Regions from separate parts of the Homo sapiens genome. Here region 2 is linked to region 1. The links are contacts of gene promoters, found by promoter capture Hi-C in human tissues and cell types (Jung and others, 2019). All regions are on one chromosome and are shown on one strand. Each heading gives the region's core, a stretch centred on a gene start or on the middle of the fragment in contact. The rest is flanking DNA. Distances are from core to core; before and after follow the strand shown. Region 1 holds the start of TRIM71 (tripartite motif containing 71). Region 2 has its middle 14 kb from the start of CNOT10.

Evidence for each region. Contacts are between HindIII fragments. The study calls those that stand out against the background at their distance.
Region 2: a contact is called between a fragment that was not itself captured here and the fragment with the promoter of TRIM71 in region 1, in 1 of the 25 tissues and cell types used here (adrenal gland).

What each region holds. Positions count from the first base shown.
Region 1 is chr3:32,813,938-32,820,114 of GRCh38, forward strand. TRIM71 (tripartite motif containing 71) reads left to right here and starts at 4,060. Exons shown (of 4, transcript NM_001039111.3): 1 at 4,060-4,995. The coding sequence starts at 4,144. RefSeq lists an enhancer at 4,520-5,101. The HindIII fragment of the contact is 18,479 bases long and covers 1-6,177 here.
Region 2 is chr3:32,668,418-32,674,573 of GRCh38, forward strand. No RefSeq gene overlaps it. Among named protein-coding and RNA genes, the nearest start is that of CNOT10, 14 kb to the right of the region's middle. The HindIII fragment of the contact is 4,468 bases long and covers 988-5,455 here.

The sequences.
Region 1 (6,177 bases), core at 2,810-5,309:
CGGCTAGTTTTTTGTACCTTTAGTTTCTTTTTAGTTAATTATTAAAATACAAGATGATTTATTTTCAGGATTCTTGAAGGCATATAGACTCCCTTTCAAATGTAAATGAGTGGAGGAAAAACTGGAAGCCTGCGTCCTCCTCCTTTGCTAACAAAGGGTGTTTATTAGCTAGGATGGCAATGAAAAATTTAATACAACGTAGTTTATAGCAGTGGACTGTGTCTTTGGCTCCTCATCTGGATGTGTAGCTCTGGCTCCTCATGGATAAGCTGTATAAAGCCTTATTAGATTCAAATACTAACCGTCGCTATGCCATATTAAAAAAAATCATTATAGCTATAAGCTGTATTTCTTATATAAGTGGGGTTAAATTGGTTGACTTAAAGATTTCCCCCTTTGCTACCAGTGCTAAAAAATTGTCTTAACCAAAATTAGGAATGTGCTAATTTAACAATTTACACTACAGGCCTGCTTCCTGGCAATGTGCTGTCAATTCAAGAAAAGAAAGAAGGAAAGCTACTTCACGATGAGAAATCAAACCTCACCCCCACTTCTCGCTCTCTCTTTTCTTCCTTTTTTTTTTTTTCCTCTGAGCAATGGTCCCCAGGAAACAAACCCACAAACCGCTGTCAAGTTTGATTCCTCTTTCTGGAGTTACAGCCTTCCTGCTCCTCCGTGATGGCTCAGCTGAAGTACCACCTCTGCTACTCGTTTTCAAAATACATGTTGAGTCTTAGGACCAGGAGGACGATTGAGGTTTTTTTTCCTTGTCATCTTTCTTTTCTTTTTCTTTCTTTCTTTTTTTGGTGGTGGGTGGGGCCAAACTAAGAGGGAGACAGCAGGTCTGGGCCATCCCTCTTCTGACCCTCTGGGGCCATCTTCCTTCTGGCAATTCTCTTCCCCCATCTGTTTTCCTCTTGTTTTTGTTTTTTAAAAAAGAAGGAAAAACAATCAAAGAAAGGAAAAGAAACGAAACAAAACAAAATTACATGAAACATCTCTATGGCAAGGCCAGTATGGTAGAAAATTATGGTAAAAAATTATAGGAGTGCATTGATTCATATGAGCATTTCATGTTTCTACACAGGTCTCAAATTATGGAAGAAATACATTGTTTAGGCAAGAGATGGTGGCATGAGAAGCTTCCTCTTTAATTTTTAAATTATACAAAGTTTGCTTCTTCGTTTGGCAAAGGAGGGGCTCTGTTTTGGTCTTATTTGATCAATAATTTTTCACTCCTCACACATTTCAGAAAATGTTCACTGATGTTCATTTTGCTCCAGGTGCTAAGGAGGGAGCTCTGGGGGCAGCTGAGGGCTTAGGCATTCCCGGTGGGGCTGCCAGGCTCTTCCTCAGCCTAGGAAACGCTCCCATCTCAGGACAGCACCCTGGCCCCCAAGACGGCTTCATCCTTTTGGAGAGGTACTTCTGCAGCTTCCTAGGGCCATCAGCACATGTGTCCAGCTGGGTTGATTTAAGGGCTTTTTCCAGGGTGATTTTCCCATGGATTCCAATGAGCAAAACCAGAGGAGCTGGGGAGGTCCATGTAGTGTATTTTTAAATTTCTCCATCTTTATGATCCAGGCATAGTTATGCAGGTTGGACACCGAGGTGTTTTTTTAAATTGCTTATCGAAGTATAATTTAAACAGTGAAATCGTGCATAGATCTTAAATGGCATTTATAAGTTTTGACAAATGTACATACACGGCAATCTATTTTTATTTCACCACCCCAGAAGGTTCCTTCATGCCCTTTCCCAGTCAATACCTCCTCATCCCCAAGGGTACTTTTCCTCTCCCCATAGCTTAGTTCTCTGTTCTAGAATTTCCTGGAAATGGAATCACACAGTATGAACTCTTTTGTGTTTGGCTTCTCTCTCCCAACACGATGTTTTTGAGTCATCAGGTTGTTGCCTGTACCAGGTTAAATAGGATATCACTAACAGCGAGATAGTGTTAAGAAGGGGACAATTTTTACCCCGTTGGCCTCCAGGCCAGATACTACCTATATCCTGGTAAGTGGCCCTCCTTGCCCTTCCAAGTGAGTCTCTCTCCAGGGCCATGCAAGTTCCTCTCCCAGAACCGCTCAGGCGGCCTCGGGCACCACCCAGATGGCTGCGGGGCCATCACCAGGTCGCCTCCCCAGAACAGCTGCCCCCTGCTTCCCCCCAGCCCCATTAAAACTCAAAAGGGAACTCTGGCCCCTCTGCCGATCAGAATTCAGACTCGCTTAATTCCATGCATCCAACTGCACACCACCGTGTGATGTTTTGGTGATCAGATATGCAGAGTTCTTTAAAAAACGTAAAAAGAAAAAAAGAAAAGGTGGGTAAAAACCGAGATCTCCCGGGCAGTGGATATGTCTCGGTTGAGCCAGGGATTCAGAATGAAATCTTTTCTTTTCTTTTTTAAATAAACGGAAGAGTCGTTCTCTGCTCCTCGCTCAGAAGGTTTCAAAGGTCGTCACACTGAAGCCCGGGGGCGTTCATCTCCCCAGCGGCCGGGAGAAGGGAGGAGGTTGGAGGGCGGAGGGAGGGAGCACACAAAAGCGGGCCGTGCTGAGAGGGCTAATGTTTCCTGTTTGCCTGGAGCCCCCTCCCCTGCCTCCCCTCCCCCAGCCCCCTCCCAGCACTCGGGCGGAAGTGAGTTTGCTCCTTTGGAGATTAAAAGGATTCCGAATTCCGATCAGTCCCAATAACCGGCGTACTGAAGAGAAGAGGAGGAGGAGGAGGAGGCAGAGGCGGCAAAGCAGAGAAAGAGGGGGCGCGCGCGCGCGCACGCAACCCGAACTGGGGGAGTTGTGCAAAGCCCCAGGAGGCCGGGGCACGGCGGGAGCAAAGCTCGGTAGGCGCAGCGCGGCCGAGGCCACCCGCGTCCGGATCGGCGACTCCTTTCAGAAAGAAGATGACGCGGGCGCGAGCCGGCGGCGTTGGCCACGCGGCTCCCGAGCTCGCCGCGCGGGGCTGTTGCCGGTTCCACTGATTCCAGCGCGCCCGAGAGGAGCCTCCATCCCCGAGGCTCGGGATCGGAGGGGGGACCAAGGCGAGGGCGAAATGGCCCGATGACAAAGGAAATGTGATCCCCCTTCTCTGCCAAGGTTTCAGAGAGGACGGACGTGAGGAGGAGGAGGGGCGCAGGGCGCGCGCGGAGCTCGGATAGCATTGCACGACGGCCCGCGCGGAGCGGGTACATCTAATATCTTCCTGCCGATGAATAATTCAGGGCGGCCCGCGGGGACCTGCGGCCCCGCGCGCTAAGCCGAAGGGGAAGGAGCGTGCGTGAGGCGCCCAGGCCAGGCGAGGCGGGGGCACGAGGGCTCCGGGCCGCGTGGGGCGCGCGTGCGTGTTAAGCGCGGGCAGCCGCGGCCCGGCTGGGCAGGCGCGCGGAAGACTCGAGGCGCGTGGGACGCGCGTGCGTACTGCACGCGTGCGGCCGCGGCTGGGCCACCACGAGCTGCAGCTGCTGCGGGGCCCACCGCCCTGCAGGGGAGGCCGTGCCTGGCTGTGCGCAAGCCCCAAGCGCAGCACGCCGGGCCACCCAGGAGCCCCTGGCCGCCGCGTCATGCGGCGGGGCAGCCGACGTCGCGCGGGGAGACACCGGCTTGGCGACGCACCGCTCCCGCCTTTACTAGTTTGGGGCTCCTTCCCCTCCCAAGAACAGACTAAATCCGTTTAAAGAAAAGCAACGCACCAAATACTCGTGGAACCAAATTCTGCTCTCGCCGGGACTGGGACTGCACAGCGAACTCTCCTTTTGGGAACTCCTTTCGTCTATCGCGAAGGGAAGCCTCAGCTGCTCCAGGGAGTCTTCCGACCTCCCTGCCCCCGCTCGCCCCTCGCCTGTCGGGGCTTGTTCCGGCGTTCCCTCTTCGGAAGGCACGCGGCCCCCAAGTTATCCGGAGGAATCTGTGTCGCCGCTGGATAGTGGCATTTAATGCCTGCAGTGTCGGGGGTGGCAGCGCTCGGGCCGGACGTGGCGAGGCCAAGCGGGCAGCGCTGCTCTGGTGCCGGCTCCCGGATTGCAGGCCTAATCGATGCATTTTTCTGAGTGAGTCGGTGACTCCCCCACCCACCTCGTCCGCTCTCTCCTCCTCCTCCTCCTCTTCCTCTCTGGTCTCCTCCCTCCTCCGGGCTGGGTTGCAAATGGCTTCGTTCCCCGAGACCGATTTCCAGATCTGCTTGCTGTGCAAGGAGATGTGCGGCTCGCCGGCGCCGCTCTCCTCCAACTCGTCCGCGTCGTCGTCCTCCTCGCAGACGTCCACGTCGTCGGGGGGCGGCGGCGGGGGCCCTGGGGCGGCGGCGCGCCGCCTACACGTCCTGCCCTGCCTGCACGCCTTCTGCCGCCCCTGCCTCGAGGCGCACCGGCTGCCGGCGGCGGGCGGCGGCGCGGCGGGAGAGCCGCTCAAGCTGCGCTGCCCCGTGTGCGACCAGAAAGTAGTGCTAGCCGAGGCGGCGGGTATGGACGCGCTGCCTTCGTCCGCCTTCCTGCTTAGCAACCTGCTCGACGCGGTGGTGGCCACTGCCGACGAGCCGCCGCCCAAGAACGGGCGCGCCGGCGCTCCGGCGGGAGCGGGCGGCCACAGCAACCACCGGCACCACGCTCACCACGCGCACCCGCGCGCGTCCGCCTCCGCGCCGCCACTCCCGCAGGCGCCGCAGCCGCCCGCGCCTTCCCGCTCGGCACCCGGCGGCCCTGCCGCTTCCCCGTCGGCGCTGCTGCTCCGCCGTCCTCACGGCTGCAGCTCGTGCGATGAGGGCAACGCAGCTTCTTCGCGCTGCCTCGACTGCCAGGAGCACCTGTGCGACAACTGCGTCCGAGCGCACCAGCGCGTGCGCCTCACCAAGGACCACTACATCGAGCGCGGCCCGCCGGGTCCCGGTGCCGCAGCAGCGGCGCAGCAGCTCGGGCTCGGGCCGCCCTTTCCCGGCCCGCCCTTCTCCATCCTCTCAGTGTTTCCCGAGCGCCTCGGCTTCTGCCAGCACCACGACGACGAGGTGAGTGCGTGGGGGCGTGTGTTTGTGTCCATCGGATAACTGCGTGTGTGCTCAACAGCGTTTCCCGGCCGGTCCCACAGCGAGGGGAGGAGGCCCTCTCCGGATTTGGTTTGTATTTCCTTTGGCTACGTGGCAGTCCTTGCTACCAAAGTAGATCATGACCTGGGAAGTATGTGGAAGTGGATTCTGTGTACGTGTCGCGAGGGGCTCCGAAAAATCCCATAGCGTGGGGTCCTCCCTTTTCTGATTTTAATTTCTGTGTGGCAAAACGCGGCAATCGTCTTGAGTTAGGCGTGAGTTGGGAGGAGATAGGTGTGTGTGTTTGTGTAGACGTGGCCTGCTCCTGCTCTTGTGGGCACACCAGAGGCCTCCCAACGTGCTGAGAAGGCGCTCCTTTATTTTCAGATTTTTGTTTGGAAAACTCATAGATTGTTGCCTTTAAAATGGGGCGTGAGCCCGGAAGAGATGGTTGTGTGGGTGAGTGCGTGGAGTTTGTGTGCCTCCGTAGACCTGGTTTCCACGTGCGCACTTGTGAGGGGAAGACTGGTTTTTTTGTTGTTGGGACAGCATGGCAGTCCTTGCCTCCTTATGTTGGGTAAGAGTGGGAGCGTCTGTGGATCTTTGAGGGCCAAGGGCCCCCAGTCTTAAGCCCTTCTCTCTCTGCGGCTGCTTCCTATATTGTTTAAAATGCGTGTTCTGGCCCCTGAATTCTCCTAGCGTGAAATCGCCGTTCGTGGGCCCACGGCTGCACCCCGAGATAGAAGCGGAATAAAGGGACGACGTTACCTTCACCAGCCTGAGTCTCTTGGGCCGCGCCCGCCTGCCCCGACTCCAAGCCCTACAGGAACCGGTTTCCCTGGTTAGGAGGTATCCACCCGGCTCAACCAGGGTCTCGACTTCCTTGGAAAAGACCAAGGCAGCCGTACGCTGCTGGAACGCCGGAGTGCAAAGGCTTTTAGGGCTACATTGCAACCCTCGGGCTCGATTTCGCCCTTTGGGCTGTCGAGTAAACATTTGCTTTTCACACAGTGTGACCCCTTTCTCCTTTCCACTTTGGTATTATGCGAGTGTCGTCTTCTCCCCCGAACCCAATGAAGGCAGGCCAAAAGTCTTGAGAAGCGGGCTCTTGCCGAGGGGGTCGGTAACTTAGGCGATCTACCTGTAGACCGGTAAGAGAGGGTG
Region 2 (6,156 bases), core at 1,972-4,471, 150 kb before region 1:
AACCTTGTCTCAAGAAAAATAAAAATACTTTATTGCTAAAAAATGCTAATAATCATTTGAGCCTTCAACACATTTGTAATTTTTTTGCTGTTAGAGGGTCTTGCCTCCATGTGGATGGCTGCTTACTGATCAGGGTGGTTGTTACTGAGGGTTGGAATGCCTGTGGCAATTTTTAAGGTAAGACAACAATGAAGCTTGTCACACCAATGGGCTCTTCCTTTCATGAAAGATTTCTCTGCAGCATGCGATGCTGTTTGATAGCATTTCACCCCACAGTAGAACTTCTTTCAAATATGCCACTTCTTTATTAACTAAATGTATGTAATATTCTAAATTATTTGTTGTCATTTCAACAGTGATCACTGGCCGGGTTACAGTGGCTCATATCTGTAATCCCAGCACTTTGCAGAAGCTGAGGCAATCAGATTGCTTGAGCTCAGGAGTTCAAGACCAGCCTGGGCAACACTGTGAAACCCTGTCTCTACAAAAAATACAAAAATTAGCCGGGCATGGTGGCATGTGCCTGTAATCCCAGCTACTCAGGAGGCTGAGGCAAGAGAATCGCTTGAACCTGGGAGGTGGAGGTTGCAGTGAGTTGAGATCACACCACTGCACTCCAGCTTGGTCAACAGAGCAAGACTCCATCTCAAAACAAAACAAACAATGTTCACAGCATCTTCACCAGGAGTAGACTTTGTCTCAAGAAACCACGTTTTTTTTTTTCCTTTCTCAAGACCGAGTTTTGCTCTGTCACCCAGGCTGGAGTGCAGTGGCGCAATCTCAGCTCACTGCAACCCCCACCTCCTGGGTTCAGGTGATTCTCCTGCCTCAGCCTCCTGAGTAGCTGGGATTACAGGCGCCCACCACCACGCTGGGCTAATTTTTGTATTTTTAGTAGAGATAGGTTTTCGCCATTTTGGCCAGGCTGGTCTCGAACTACTGACATCAAGTGACCTGCCCACCTTGGCCTCCCAAAGTGCTGGTGTTACAGGTGTGAGCCACCACGCCTGGCCAAGAAACCTCTTTCTTTACTCTTCCGTAAGAAACATCTCCTATCTATTCAAGTTTTATCATGAGGTTGCAGCAATTCAGTCACATGTTCAGGCTTTACTTCTAATTCTAGTTATCTTGCTATTTTCTACCACATCTGCAGTGACTTCTCACTGAAGTCTTGAACTCCTCAATGTCTTCCATGAGGGTTGGAATCAACTTCTCCCAAACTCCTATGAATCCTGATATTCTGACCTCCTTCCATGAATCATGAATGTTCTTTAATGGCATCTAGAATGGTGAATCTTTTCCAAAGGGTTTCAATTTACTTTCCCCGAATCCATCAGGGGAATCACTATTTATGGCAGCTATAGCCTTACAAAATGTATTCTTTAAATAATAAGACTTGAAAGTTGAAATTACTCCCTGATCCATGGGCTGTCTGAATGTTGTGTTAGCAGGTATGAAAACAACATTCATCTCCTTGTACATGTCTATCCGAGCTCTTGGGTGACAAGGTGCATTGTCAATGAGCACTAATATTTTGAAAACAATCTTTTGTCTGAGCAGCAGTTCTCAACAGTGGGCTTAAAATATTCAGTAAACCAAATGTGTAAACAGATATGCTGTCATCTAGGCTTTGTTGTTCCATTTGTAAAGTACAGACACAGTAGATTTAACACAATTCTTAAGGGGCTTAGGATTTTCAGAATGGTAAATGACCATTGGCTTCAACTTAAGGTCACCAGCTGCATCAACCCCTAACAAGAGAGTCAACCTGTCCTTTGAAGCTTCGAAGCCAGACATTGACTTCTCCTCTCTAGCTATAAAAGTCCTAGATGGCATCTTGTTCCAATATAAAACTGCTTCATCTACATTGGATATTTGTTGTTTAGTGTAGCCATCTTCACCAATGATCTTAGATCTGGGTAACTTGCTGCAGCTTCTACAAAAGTACATGCTGCTTCACCTTGCACTTTTATGTTATGGAGATGACTTCTTTCCTTTACCTCATGAATCCACCAGTGCTAGCTTCAAACTCTTTCCTGAAGCTTCCTCACCTTTCTTAGTCTTCATAGAATTGAAGACAGTTAGAGCCTTGCTCTTGATTAGGCTTTGGCTTAAGGGAATATTGTGACCGGTTTGATCTACCCAGACCACTCAAACTTCCTACGTATCAGCAATAAAGCTATTTTGCTTTTTTAGCATTTGTGTGTTCACTGAAGTAGCACTTTTATTTATTTATTTGCTATTATTTTTTGAGACAGAATCTCATTCTGTTGCCCGGGCTGATGTGCAGTGGTGTGATCATAGCTAACTGCAACCTCAAACTTCTGGGCTCAAGCGATCCTCCTGCCTCAGTACCTGGGACTACAGGCTCATGCCTGTATCTGAGTACAGGACTACAGGCTGTACTCAATCCTAAGTACCTGGGACTACAGGCTCATGCCACCACATCTGGCTAATTTTTATTTTCTATTTTTTGTAGAGATAAGATCTCATTATGTGCCCAAGCTAGTCTTGAACTCCTGGGCTAAGTTATCCTCCTGCCTTGGCCTCCCAAAGCACTGAGATTACAGGTATGTGCCACCATGCTTGGCCTGGAGTACTACTTTTAATTTCTTTCAAGAACTTTTCTTTTGCAATCACAACTTGGCTAACTGCTGGGAGCAAGACGCCTGGCTTTCAGGCTGTCTTGGCCTTCAACAAGCCTTCCTCACTAAGCTTAATCATTCTCACTACTTGTGTTCAAAATTGTATGAAAGTTCTAGCTTTTGGTTTAAAGTGAGAGATGTGGGACTCTTCCTTTCACTTGAGCACTCAGAGGCCATTGCAGGGTTATTAATTGGCCTAATTTCAATATTGCTGTGTCTCAGGGGATAGGAAGGTCCAAAAAGAGGGAGAGAGAGCAGCAGTCCCCACCTTTTTGGCACCAGGGACCAGTTTCATGGAGATAATTTTTCCATGGACTGGGGGATGGGGAAGTAGTTCCGGGATGATTCAAGCACATTACATTTATTGTGCACATTATTTCTATTATTACATTGTAATACGTAATGAAATATTTTTACAACTCACCATAACATACCATAGTGGGAGCCCTGAACTTGCTTTCCTGCAGCTAGGTAGTCCCATCTGGGAGTGATGAAAGACAGTGACAGATCATCAGGCATTAGATTCTCGTAAGGAGCACACAACCTAGATCCCTCACATGTGCAGTTCACAACAGGGTTCACACACCTACGAAAATCTAATGCCGCTGCTGATCTGACAGGAGGCGGAGCTCGGGAAGTAATGTGAGCAATGGGGAGTGGCTATAAATACGATACAGATGAAGCTTTGCTGGCTCACCTGCCTCTTACCTCCTGCTGTGCAGCCCGGTTCCTAACAGGCCATGGACTGGTACTAGTCTGTGACCCAGGTGTTGGGGAACCCTGATATAGGGGAATGGCCAATCCATGACGCAGTCAGAACACACGTATTGATCAATAACTTTGCTGTCCTATGTGGGCACAGTCCATGGCACCCCAAAACAATTACATAGTAACATCAAACATCACTAAATACAGATCACCATAACAGATATAACAATAATGCTAAGGTTTGAAGTATTGTGAGAATTACCAAAACGTGACACCGTGACAAAAAGTGAGTACATGCTATTGGAAAAATGGTGCTGATAGACTTGTGTGATGCAGGGATGCCACAAACTTTCAACTTATTTAAAAAAAAAAAAAACTATTTGCAAAGCACAATAAAGCAAAGTACAATAAAACAATGTATGCCTGTGTTATACCAAGATTAATTTCCTGGTTTTAATGACTGTACTATGGTTATATAAGAAGGTAGCATTAGATGAAGCTGATTGAAAGGTATATGGGAATTCTCGGAACTTTTTTCTAAGTCTGAAATTAGATAAAAATAAAAGGTTTTTTGGTTTTGTTTTTCTGAGACAGGGTCACTCTGTCGCCTAGGCTGGAGTGCAGTGGCATAATCTCGGCTCACTGTAACCTCCACCACCTGGATTCAAGCAACTCTCCCACCTCAGCTTCCTGTGTAGCTGAGACTACAGGCACACACCACCAAGCCCAGCTAATTTTTTTTTTTTTTTCGTATTTTAAGTAGAGATGGGGTTTCACCATGTTGGCCAGGCTGGTCTCCAACTCCTGACCTCCAGTGATCCACCTGCCTCGGCCTTCCAAAGTGCTGGGATTACAGGCATGAATCACCACATACAGCCAAAAATAATTCTTTTTTTTTTAAGGTGGCCAGGGGCAGTGGCTGACGCTTGTAATCTCAGCACTTTGGAAGGCTGAGGCGGGCAGATCACGTGGTCAGGAGTTTTGAGACCAGCCTGGCCAACAACATAGTGACGCCCCGTCTCTACCAAAAAAATACAAAAATTATTTGGGCATGGTGGCAGGCGCCCATAAGCCCAGCTACTCGGGAGGCTGAGGCAGGAGAATCGCTTGAACCCGGGAAGCGGAGGTTGCAGTGAGCCAAGATTGTGCCACTGCACTCCAGCCTGGGCGACAGAGCGAGAATCCGTCCTAAAAAAAAAGGTGTGCATCTACAAATGTCAGTAGAGAATTTGGTGTAAAAATATTGAATACAGAATGTCAATATTAAAGCCAATAGTTATTTCATATTTTTTCAGTTTTTAAAAGTATTGTCTTATGTTTTAGTAAGAGAACATATCTGAACTCCCAAAATAAGAGAATGGAACTAAGAAATTAGCTAAAACCGCTGTCAACCTGGCGTGACAGTGGACACTCAGCTTTTTCCCTTCAGGAGCAGCAGTCTTTTCCCCTGAGGAGCTGGACACAGTGAGGAGCTTGACATAGTGAGGGGAAGCAGGGAGAACAGACTATACTAAAATAATCTAGCCAGCCACCAAATAAACAGAGGAAGGGGACAGTATACAGAGTTACTACAATGTATTGTGTCCGGAAATGGTTCCTGCCGGTGGGTTCTTGGTCTCGCTGACTTCAAAAATGAAGCTGCGGACCCTCTCGGTGAGTGTTACAGTTCTTAAAGACAGTGTGTTCAGAGCTTGTTCCTTCAGATGTTCGGATGTGTCGGGAGTTTCCTCCTTCTGGTGGGTTCGTGGTCTCGCTAACTTCAGGAGTGAAGCTGCAGACCTTCGCTGTGAGTATTACAGCTCTTTAAAGGTGGCACGTCGGGAGTCGTTCCTTCCTCCAGGTGAGTTCATGGTCTCACTGACTTAAGGAGTGAAACTGCAGACCTTCACCCTGTTACAGCTCTCAAAGGTGGCAGGTCCAGAATGGTTGGTTTCTCCCACTGGGTTTGTGGTCTCGCTAGCTTCAACAGTAAAGCTGCAGACCTTCATGCTGAGTGCTACAGCTCATAAAGGTAGTGCGGACCCTAAGAGCAAACAGCAGCAAGATTTATTAGGAAAAGCAGAAAAACAAACCATCCACAGTGACCCCAGGGGGTTGCAGCCCCTGTGCAGGTGGCCTGCTTTTATTCCCTTATTTGGCCCCACCCACATCCTGCTGATTGGTCCACTTTACAGAGAGCTGATTGGTCCATTTTACAGAGTGCTGATTGGTCCGCTTTGACAGAGTGCTGATTGGTGCATTTACAAACCTTTAGCTAGACCCAGAGTGCTGATTGGTGCATTTACAATCCTTTAGCTAGACAGAAAAGTTCTCCAAGTCCCCACTCAACCCGGAAGCCCAGCTGGCTTAACATCTCAGTATTACTAAAATGTTACTGACAAAAACAATTATAGAACATACAAAGAAACAAGAAAGTGTGATTCACTCTAGAAAACAAACAACAAACAAAAAAATACAGGCAACAGATACTGCATGTGAGAGCAAGCAGACTTCAGATTTAACAAACAAATCCTTCAAAGTATAATACTTGTTATAGATATGTTGGAACAAACTAAAGGAAACCATGATTAAAGAAGTAAAGGGGCCAGGTGTGGTGGCTCACGCCTGTAACACCAGCACTTTGGGAGGCCAAGGAGGGTGGCTCATTTGAGATCAGGAGTTCAAGACAAGCCTGGCCAACATGGGGAAATACCGCCTCTACTAAAAATACAAAAATTAGCTGGGCGGTAGTGGCGTGCACCTGTAATCCCAGCTACTCAGGATACTGAGGCAGGAGAATCGGTTGAGCCTGGCAGGCCAAGGT